2 separate regions of the Homo sapiens genome follow, and region 1 is linked to region 2. The links are contacts of gene promoters, found by promoter capture Hi-C in blood cells and fetal thymus (Javierre and others, 2016). All regions are on one chromosome and are shown on one strand. Each heading gives the region's core, a stretch centred on a gene start or on the middle of the fragment in contact. The rest is flanking DNA. Distances are from core to core; before and after follow the strand shown.

Region 1 (5,283 bases), core at 2,720-5,219, 3.0 Mb before region 2:
AAGCTCCCAGTTGGTTCTGTCTGCCTGGGTACGTATTTTGGTTTTCAAAGGAATTATTTTCCTGGCTTGAGTTCTTTCAGAAATCCATTAATTTATAAATCAATAGAAATATATCCAGCACCTGCTTTGTGCTAAGTGCCCTGGGGAATATATCTGCCTGCAAGGAACTTAATGTATAGTTGCAGGGGGCAAAGCAAACAAATGCAGAACAACAGCAGTACCAAAGAGATGCTATTCATATTTAAAAAATACATAGTAAAAATTCTAAAGTACTGAAGGTAGAAAGTAAGTTCCTCTCCCACCCCTACCCTTCTTGCCCTGGTTCTCTTTCCCTCTAATCAGTTTCTTAGTGCTCTCTGAGAGATTCTTTCTATATAAAGGCATATACGTACATATAGCACCTTTCCTTTTGCCAAAATACCAAACGAGACATACTATAATACTCTCCTGTGCTTTGCTTTTTAAAATTCATAAAATATCTCAGATATTGTGCTGTATCAGTACATATTGATCTCCCTCATTCTAATGGAATTCTTTTGTATGAATATAGCACGCTTTATTTAATAGCCCCTTTATCAATGGTCTTTTAGGTTGTTTCTAGGCTTTTGCTACCTGAACAATGCTGCAATAAATTCTCCTGACAAAGAGCTATAATTAAGGGCTAAATTGTGTGGCTCAGACTGTAAGTGATTCTGATTTCACAGTATGGGTGCTAATGGCATTTTGGGTGAGACAGTTTTGGTTGTGCAGAACTGTCTTGCCCACTGCATGATTTTTAGGTTCCCTGCCAAAGTTCCAGCATGCTCTCATTGTGACAACCAAAAAAGCCAGTCCCGGTCCCCCCAGCTCCCATCTCCAAGTGTTCTCTAGGGGGATGATATTACCAAGATTGGGAATTGCTGCAAGCATAGTGAGTTAGAGTTGGAAGCCGTCTGGGGAAAAGGGCAGTCTGAGCGTGCTATGATTTCAGTGTTTGTGTCCCCTTCAAAATTCATGTTGAAACACAACCCCAGTGCAACAATATTAAGAGGTGAGGCCTTTAGGTGGTGATTAGGTCACGAGGGCTTCACCCTCAAGGATAGGATTAGCACTTCTAAAAGGACATGAGGAAATGAATTCGCCTCCTTTTGCCCCTCTGTCCCTTCCATCATGTGAGAACACAGCAACATATTGGAAGCAAAGAGCAGCCCTCACCAAACACTGAGCCTGCCAGTGCATTGATTTTGGACCTTCTAGTGTTCAGAATATGAGAAATAAATTTCTATTGTTTACAAATTACTCAGCTTATGGTATTTTGTTATAGTAGCACAAAAGCCCTAAGACAGAGCAGGACTTGAGGATTTGTACAGGCTTGGGGACACAGCCTGCTAAGGATGAGAGTTAGTCATCTTATTGGGGGATTTCCCTTGTCTTGGTGCCTACTTTTTTACTCCCAGAGAGATGACATAGTGTTTGTGAAGCCAATTGGCCTGGCAAGTAGTCCTTAGGTTTTAATGTGGGTCCTAGAAAGAGCTGGGACCTTGCTTCAGCTTCTTTGCCCAGCCTGCCATGTTGGCCCTGGGTTTGCCTTTGGTCACAGGTGTGGAGGTGCTGGCCTGGTGACTCTGTTCACTAGTAGAATGAAGAAGGCCATTAACACTGGATGGACCACTGATAGGCCTTGGGACAAATTATGCAATGCTTGAATTTTCACTCTACCGTTTCTGTGCCAGTGAATCATAAATTCCTAGAAAGTTAAAGCTGAAGGGAAATTTTTAGATCATCTAGCCCCTCTCAATTAGAAGAGAGGGAGTCAGGATAATGTGCTTTAGAAGGTAAAATGTCATAAAAGAGCCTGCAAGTAAGGGGTACTATGGACTAGGGGATAAGAGTAGAGATGACTGAGTATGATGGACTTCATGCCAAGGGAAAAATGATCTAAATCAGTGGCTTACAAACTGGATTTTATATCAGTATTGGAAAAGTAATATAAGGAAGAAATGCAGATTTCTAGGCCCCACCCCAGCCAGAACAAATTAGAATTCTAGGACTAGGATCTGGGAATCTGTATTTTTTTTTTTTTAATTGAGACGGAGTCTCGTTCTTTCGTCCAGGCTGGACTGCAGTGGCGCTATCTCGGCTCACTGCAAGCTCCGCCTCCCAGGTTCACGCAATTCTCCTGCCTCAGCCTCCTGAGTAGCTGGAACTACAGGCGCCCGCCACCGTGCCCGGCTAATTTTTTTTTTTTTTTGTATTTTTAACAGATATGCGTTTTCACCATGTTAGCCAGGATGGTCTTGATCTCCTGACCTCGTGATTTGCCCGCCTCGACCTCCCAAAGTGCTCGGGAATCTGTATTTTTACTATGATCCTCAGGTGATCTTTGTGCCTAGTAGTGGCCTGACAATGAATCTTAGGAAACTCTGATTTAAATAGACTCAATCAAATAATTTCCATATCACAAATATGAGTGTCAGAGGAGCCTGGGCTGCTCCTTTGCTGGATATCTGTACTCTGGGCAAAGGGAGAGAGCAGATAATATGCCGGGTGGTTAATTATGTTGGCATTTATTCATTCTGAAATGTTTACAAATGTAATTAGAAGCCAGATTAGGTATGATGCTCACTGACCTTTAAGGAGAGCTTGGCATCAAACAACCAAAAAAAAAAAAAAAAAAAAGAAAAAAAGAGGAAATGCCTATATCAAAGGTTAATCAGAGCAAAACACAGCATGATTAGCTGGGAATCTCTAGCTTGCAAAAAGAAGGATTTTATTTGGTATTAAGAATTAAGAATTAGGAAATGGAAGATCATTTCTTCTGAGTCATTGTTTTTCTGGGTTTGGAATGACTCTTCCCAGACCTGAGCCTTTCCCGGCTGGCCTAACAATTTTCTGCCTGACATTGTTGGGAAGATATTTTCAATGGTAAATTTAGAGCTCTTGCTCCATGTGGTTACATAATCAAACTGGATCACTGACTATTCTTACCTCATCTTCCAGAGACTGTATGGAACCCTACCTTCCTTCAGATGATGGCAAATCCTCCCGGGTCCTATAGAACGGTTCTCTCTCTTGCCTTTAGGTTCTTCTCCCCAGCTAGGGTTCACAGGGTTACTTTCCTGACAATCAGGTGAAGCTGACTATGTGACCTCAGGTAAGTCTCCCAACTCTACCTCACCTTTGCCCTTCCGATCCATTTTCTACCCTGCTCTGCACCCTGGCAGGCTGCCTGCTGTAGACTATATCATTGGGGCTTCTTTGCTAGCTGACTTCCTGCTGGCAGAGGAAGCAGGATTAACCAGCAGGAAGTCCCTGACAGGGGGTGCTAAGGTCTGGCCTAGTCTTTCCTTGCCAGGTCCCTAGGTTGTTCCCATGGCTACAACTCCCACTGCGCAGCCGCACTGCTGCGGCTGGGGGCCCTCGCTGGGCTCCCGTGGCGCTATTGCCTCCCTTTGCACCTTCCGGTCTGCGTGTTGTGATGGCTCCCTCTGATGGCAGTCGCTGGATGCTTCATCCACGTGTAGTGGTTTTCTTTCCTCTGCACACCTCTCAGTACATACTCCAGCTGGGACAATCTTTTCAGATGAACACCCTGTTTTTATCCCAGTCTGATAAATTTTTCTTGAAAAGAGGTCAAACAGGAAAGCAAACCTTCCTCTGCCTGTCTCAGTGCAATCATGAAGATCACGCAAGATAGTCCCTGTTGGAGTGTGTGTGCTTCAGCAGTGCAGAGCATTCAAAGGTAGGGTGGCATAATAGTTACTGCTCTGGTGATTATTATTAAGGTCTGAGACATCTTTATAACCTTAAAGCATTTTGGACAGCTTTCAATATTTGGTATTTGCACAGTAAATACTAGTTGATTAATTCAGGGAGCCGGAAGTAGGGAGTACTGACAAGTACATCTACCTACTTTCAAGTGTACAGACTCTGTTTCTGGAAGTTACAAGAGAGTCTGGTTTTATTTTCTTTGTTATTAATGAAAATTCCTCCCAGATTCTGGGAACAGGTTGATATACAACCCTAGTTTTCAGTTACATCAGTTTTCATTTATGTCTGGGTTCCACAAGTATTTTGTGGAGTTGGTGGAAGTTATGTTAGGGTTTACTGGCAAGATTTCAATTTAACCTGGGAAACCTTGAATACATAAGTTTTTAAATCGCTGCACATATAAGTCATAGTTTATTTAACCATTGCCTCATTGTTAGAGAATTAGATTATTTCCAGTTTTGCTCTGATAAAGCAATAGAGTGATCATCTTTGCACTCACAGTAGTCCGCACATCATTCAGCAGCGCCATCACTGCTTAGGTCAGAGGCTGGTGGACACAGCAGTAAACAAGGCAAAGCTGTGCTCTTGTGAGTTTATATTCTAGATGGAGAGACAGATAATAAACAAACACAATGAATACATGGGGTAAAGCAGGGTAGGGGTGGTAGGGAAGAGAGGCAATGGGAGTTGCTATCTCAAAAAGGGTAATCACAGAAGCCCTTCTGATATGGAAACATTTGGGTAGAGATCTGAATGACATGAGGAAGCAAGCCAAATATCTGGGGGAAAGGCATTCTTGGCAGAGGGAACAGCCTTTGCAAAGGCCTGGAGACAGGAATGTGCTTAACATGTTTGAGGAACAGCAAGGAGGTCAACGGAACTGGAGTGGAATGAGTAAGGGGGATAGCAGTAAGAAGTGAATTAGAGGGACAAGTGGGGGCAAAATCTTCAAGGATCTTATAGGCCAATATAAAGACTCTGACTGGTCCTTATAGTGATAGAAGACCTTGGTGGGTTTGAAGTAGGAGAGTGACATGAGGAGACTTTCATTTTAAAAGGCTCTCTTTGGCTGCTATATGAAAATGTTCTGGTGCGGGCTAGGGTAGAGTGAGGGTGGCCAGGTGGGAGGCTTTGGGGATAATTCAGGGAGAGATGAGGGTAGCTTGGACCAGAGTTGTCAAAATGAATGTCATGAGAAATGATTGGATTCTGGGTATATTTCAAAGGCAGAGGTGGCTGATTTTAATTATGGATTGGATGCAGGATATGAATGATGAGAGTTGAGGATGACTTGGGTTTTGCCCTGCATAATGCCTGTTGAGGGATAAATAAACAAATGTTTAGTCAGGGCAGTGGTTCTTAAGTTGAGGCGACTTTGCTGTCTAGGGGACATTTGGCAATGTATAGAGATAGTTATGTTTTTTACCCTGGGGTGGGAGATGTGAGCTACAGACTTCTAGTGGGCAGAGGCCACAGACGCTGCTAAACCTCCTACAGTGCACAGCACAGTTCCCTTAACAAAGAATGATCCAG
Region 2 (5,177 bases), core at 1,298-3,797:
AATATAATTCTCATTAGTCTGTTTTTGAGAGATACAAGTTGTCAAGCCCATTTGGGATATTAAATGATAAGGGTTCAGTATTACCCTTCTGTGCTGTGCAAAGGAGAATAGTCAAAAGCATATTTACTGTTCTCATGAAATTTGTAGTTTAACTATGAAGACAAGATATCTGTGAAAAGTAAAGATCACTTTCTGATCAACTAAGTTTTCTCACTTTCTAGTTTTTGTCTTTGTATATACCTCCTTTAAGAATACTTTCTCCAAAATTGTTTCCAGTCTCACTGACTGAGGAAATTTTCAGGACTCAATCCCATGTACAAATGTTGAACATTACATAATCAGTTATACTATATCCATTGTACTTGTGACTGATATAAAAACATATTTTTTTCAATAGCTATTTATTGCATGTCTGCAATGTGCCAAGTGCTGTTGTAGATATTAGGAAAAATGAAGTAGACAAAACATTGTCTTTGTCCTTGTGGAACTTACATCTCAGTATTATAAGTGTGCAAACCCTCTCTTCCTACTAGGAGAAAATATTATTTTTAATCATTCCTTCACAGTGAGTTTCTTAAACTTATTTCATCAGAGACTATTGAAAAGCACACACTCTTCCATCCCCCTAGAATGAGAATCCTGGGGGAGGGATTGGGCAGTCTATCTTTTTAAGAAACTCACTGGATGTTTCATGTGCATTCACAGCTTAGGTAACTCTGGGGGAAAGCACTGCCCTATTAAGAACATACTGCCCAAGGAATTGGTAATATCCATTGTACTATATCTGTAGGACCCCTTTTGATTGTCATTACTAGCCTTTATCAAACATCTCATCCTTGGAGAATGTGAAAGCTCTCCACGGTTTTCCACAGACAGTTCACCTAACAAAAAACAACAAGGCAAACTTTTTCAAGAATACCATTATTTTTAAATAAAATGCCTCTACATGGCAGATGTTATTATGTTCTACTTTGGAGATGAAAAGAATCGAACATTATTAGTCATGATCCACAGAACCAGAAGATTTATTTTAAAGATAAAGTTCAGATGATGAACATAAAGGAAGTTATCTCATCAAAGAAGGCAAGACTGAGTAAATCTCAGAAATCCACCATGTACAATATTTAAAAATGCTCACTAAAGTTGTTCTTTGTGAGTTAATGAAGGTCAGTATAGTCAATATTCAGTACGTAATCCTAGCAAGTACAAATAAAGTTAATATTATTCAAATATCTTACACAGGCTTATTGCATGCAACACACTGTTCTAAGTAACATACAGATATTAAAATGACTTAATTCTCAAAACATGAAGTGAGTTTTTGTTTTTATGCCCGTTTTGCAGATGAGAAAACTGAGGCATAGGGAAGGTAAGTAACGCGCTTAAGGTTACATAGCTGGTAAATTGTAGCCAGGAGTTGGAATCTAGGTGCCAAAATCTATGCTGTTAATCACTAAACTACGCTGCCTTAGTTTTTATACTTCTTTAGGAACCTCAGACCAAAAGAAATTTAGGCAATTCTAATAGAACAAGCAAGAATTTGCTAATCACAGCTTCCTTGCCCCAATCCTTTAATCGGCTTCATTTTCACTGACTTCTTTTTTAAATGAAGATAACAATGTTGTTGAACAGGATCATCTAGTGGTTAGTGGTTCGGCATAAGAATGACTCGCTTCTGAAGCTCAGCTCTAGCACTCGCTTGCTGTATGACCTTGAGAAAGTTACCTCCCCAAGTCTGTTTCCTCATCTTTAAAAGAGAGGTTATAATAGGACCCACATCATACTATTGTTTAAAGAGAAAACAACGTAGCCCATTTAAAGCACTTAGAAAGTGCTCCATAAATATTATTAGTGTAATAAATAGCAGCAACATCAATAAAGTATGAACCAAATGATCTCTTGATTCGTATCCTAACACTAAAAATGGTTTATTTCCCTTCTAATTAAAAGAGAATTACAACAACCAAAACAACAAACGAAACTATAGCCATAAAATCAATTATATCGTCTGTGAGAAAACCGGAAAGGCTATTGGACACATTAATTCACTTGTCATCAGTCATCCCCTCTATTCCAAAATGTTTGTGTTCTAACATCCTGAGACACCTTGCATAATATAATCACTGTGACTCCAAGAGGTCAAATGGGCAGGCAGTTAATGCTTCTCTGTGAAAAGCTCAATAATTCATTTTATAAATTTCAGTTTAAAGCCTGCGTTGAGGTTAAGAAAAATTGACGTTCGGTCTGTGAACTTAATGTCAAGCTCCAGAAAAACTCTGGGCAGCACATGTTTAGCAATTAAGTGGACACAGACAATAAAGACGTTGCCAAATTGTAAAACAAGACTTGGAAATCACAGAAAATGTTGCTAGTTATTGATCACGGTGACCATTCAGTTCCTACTGAGCCACCCAAAAGAATCATTCATTTTCCAGCAGAGAGCCTGCTCATTTGCAAGATAAAAGAGAGACATTTCTGCACATGCCCATAATGTTCTTCACCACTGGGGGCAGCTTTACATAAGACTGCATTCACTGAAACCAAAGCAACAGTCCGAGCAGCTTTCAGAATGACAGTCTGCAGAAGTGAGCTGAGCGTGTGCGCGGTACGGGGCTCTCCTGCCTTCTGGGCTCCAACGCAGCTCTGTGGCTGAACTGGGTGCTCATCACGGGAACTGCTGGGGTATGGAATACAGATGTGGCAGCTCAGGTAGCCCCAAATTGCCTGGAAGAATACATCATGTTTTTCGATAAGAAGAAATTGTAGGATCCAGTTTTTTTTTTAACCGCCCCCTCCCCACCCCCCAAAAAACTGTAAAGATGCAAAAACGTAATATCCATGAAGATCCTATTACCTAGGAAGATTTTGATGTTTTGCTGCGAATGCGGTGTTGGGATTTATTTGTTCTTGGAGTGTTCTGCGTGGCTGGCAAAGAATAATGTTCCAAAATCGGTCCATCTCCCAAGGGGTCCAATTTTTCTTCCTGGGTGTCAGCGAGCCCTGACTCACTACAGTGCAGCTGACAGGGGCTGTCATGCAACTGGCCCCTAAGCCAAAGCAAAAGACCTAAGGACGACCTTTGAACAATACAAAGGATGGGTATGTTTTGTCATTTTTCTTCTTTCCTTCTTAAAAACAAAAAACAAAAAACCTCTAGTGTGTGTAATAATTCTGCCTTAATTATTTTAGAGATTACCTTGCTCTGCTCTAAGACTATGAATTTATTTGCTTAGTGGCATGTTTCCTTGTTTAACTATTTAAAAAAACAAAACACTAAAGACAATTCTCTTTAATTACAAAGAGATAATATGTGATGTTAAGTGTTATTTAGATTTAAATTTTTAAAAATGAAAAATATATGCCTATTTTTGCTTGATTAAGGATTAATTCTTTTTTGGGGGGATAACTTTTCTAAGTTGTTTTTATTTCCAGGTTTCAATGTAATTAGGCTACTGAGCGGATCAGCTGTAGCACTGGTTATAGCCCCCACTGTCTTACTGACAATGCTTTCTTCTGCCGAACGAGGATGCCCTAAGGGCTGTAGGTGTGAAGGCAAAATGGTATATTGTGAATCTCAGAAATTACAGGAGATACCCTCAAGTATATCTGCTGGTTGCTTAGGTTTGTCCCTTCGCTATAACAGCCTTCAAAAACTTAAGTATAATCAATTTAAAGGGCTCAACCAGCTCACCTGGCTATACCTTGACCATAACCATATCAGCAATATTGACGAAAATGCTTTTAATGGAATACGCAGACTCAAAGAGCTGATTCTTAGTTCCAATAGAATCTCCTATTTTCTTAACAATACCTTCAGACCTGTGACAAATTTACGGAACTTGGATCTGTCCTATAATCAGCTGCATTCTCTGGGATCTGAACAGTTTCGGGGCTTGCGGAAGCTGCTGAGTTTACATTTACGGTCTAACTCCCTGAGAACCATCCCTGTGCGAATATTCCAAGACTGCCGCAACCTGGAACTTTTGGACCTGGGATATAACCGGATCCGAAGTTTAGCCAGGAATGTCTTTGCTGGCATGATCAGACTCAAAGAACTTCACCTGGAGCACAATCAATTTTCCAAGCTCAACCTGGCCCTTTTTCCAAGGTTGGTCAGCCTTCAGAACCTTTACTTGCAGTGGAATAAAATCAGTGTCATAGGACAGACCATGTCCTGGACCTGGAGCTCCTTACAAAGGCTTGATTTATCAGGCAATGAGATCGAAGCTTTCAGTGGACCCAGTGTTTTCCAGTGTGTCCCGAATCTGCAGCGCCTCAACCTGGATTCCAACAAGCTCACATTTATTGGTCAAGAGATTTTGGATTCTTGGATATCCCTCAATGACATCAGTCTTGCTGGGAATATATGGGAATGCAGCAGAAATATTTGCTCCCTTGTAAACTGGCTGAAAAGTTTTAAAGGTCTAAGGGAGAATACAATTATCTGTGCCAGTCCCAAAGAGCTGCAAGGAGTAAATGTGATCGATGCAGTGAAGAACTACAGCATCTGTGGCAAAAGTACTACAGAGAGGTTTGATCTGGCCAGGGCTCTCCCAAAGCCGACGTTTAAGCCCAAGCTCCCCAGGCCGAAGCATGAGAGCAAACCCCCTTTGCCCCCGACGGTGGGAGCCACAGAGCCCGGCCCAGAGACCGATGCTGACGCCGAGCACATCTCTTTCCATAAAATCATCGCGGGCAGCGTGGCGCTTTTCCTGTCCGTGCTCGTCATCCTGCTGGTTATCTACGTGTCATGGAAGCGGTACCCTGCGAGCATGAAGCAGCTGCAGCAGCGCTCCCTCATGCGAAGGCACAGGAAAAAGAAAAGACAGTCCCTAAAGCAAATGACTCCCAGCACCCAGGAATTTTATGTAGATTATAAACCCACCAACACGGAGACCAGCGAGATGCTGCTGAATGGGACGGGACCCTGCACCTATAACAAATCGGGCTCCAGGGAGTGTGAGGTATGAACCATTGTGATAAAAAGAGCTCTTAAAAGCTGGGAAATAAGTGGTGCTTTATTGAACTCTGGTGACTATCAAGGGAACGCGATGCCCCCCCTCCCCTTCCCTCTCCCTCTCACTTTGCTGGCAAGATCCTTCCTTGTCCGTTTTAGTGCATTCATAATACTGGTCATTTTCCTCTCATACATAATCAACCCATTGAAATTTAAATAC

Evidence for each region. The method cuts DNA at HindIII sites, captures the fragments that hold promoters and counts their contacts. A CHiCAGO score of 5 or more calls a contact.
Region 1: a contact is called between a fragment that was not itself captured here and the fragment with the promoter of LRRTM3 in region 2, in 1 of 17 cell types (M2 macrophages). The highest score is 7.6, in M2 macrophages.

The regions. Positions count from the first base shown.
Region 1 is chr10:63,883,956-63,889,238 of GRCh38, forward strand. LOC101928859 (a long non-coding RNA gene) reads right to left here and starts at 3,139. Exons shown (of 4, transcript XR_246119.4): 1 at 2,999-3,139. All of the region lies in intron 1 of LOC124902439 (a long non-coding RNA gene), which reads left to right. The HindIII fragment of the contact is 8,813 bases long and covers 1-5,283 here.
Region 2 is chr10:66,923,489-66,928,665 of GRCh38, forward strand. It overlaps LRRTM3 (leucine rich repeat transmembrane neuronal 3), which reads left to right and starts at 2,548. Exons shown (of 3, transcript NM_178011.5): 1 at 2,548-3,099; 2 at 3,433-4,964. The coding sequence starts at 3,096. The region is part of intron 7 of CTNNA3 (catenin alpha 3); the gene reads right to left. The region is part of intron 3 of LOC101928961 (a long non-coding RNA gene); the gene reads right to left. RefSeq lists an enhancer at 1,935-2,791 and a silencer at 2,411-2,520. The HindIII fragment of the contact is 12,033 bases long and covers 1-4,225 here.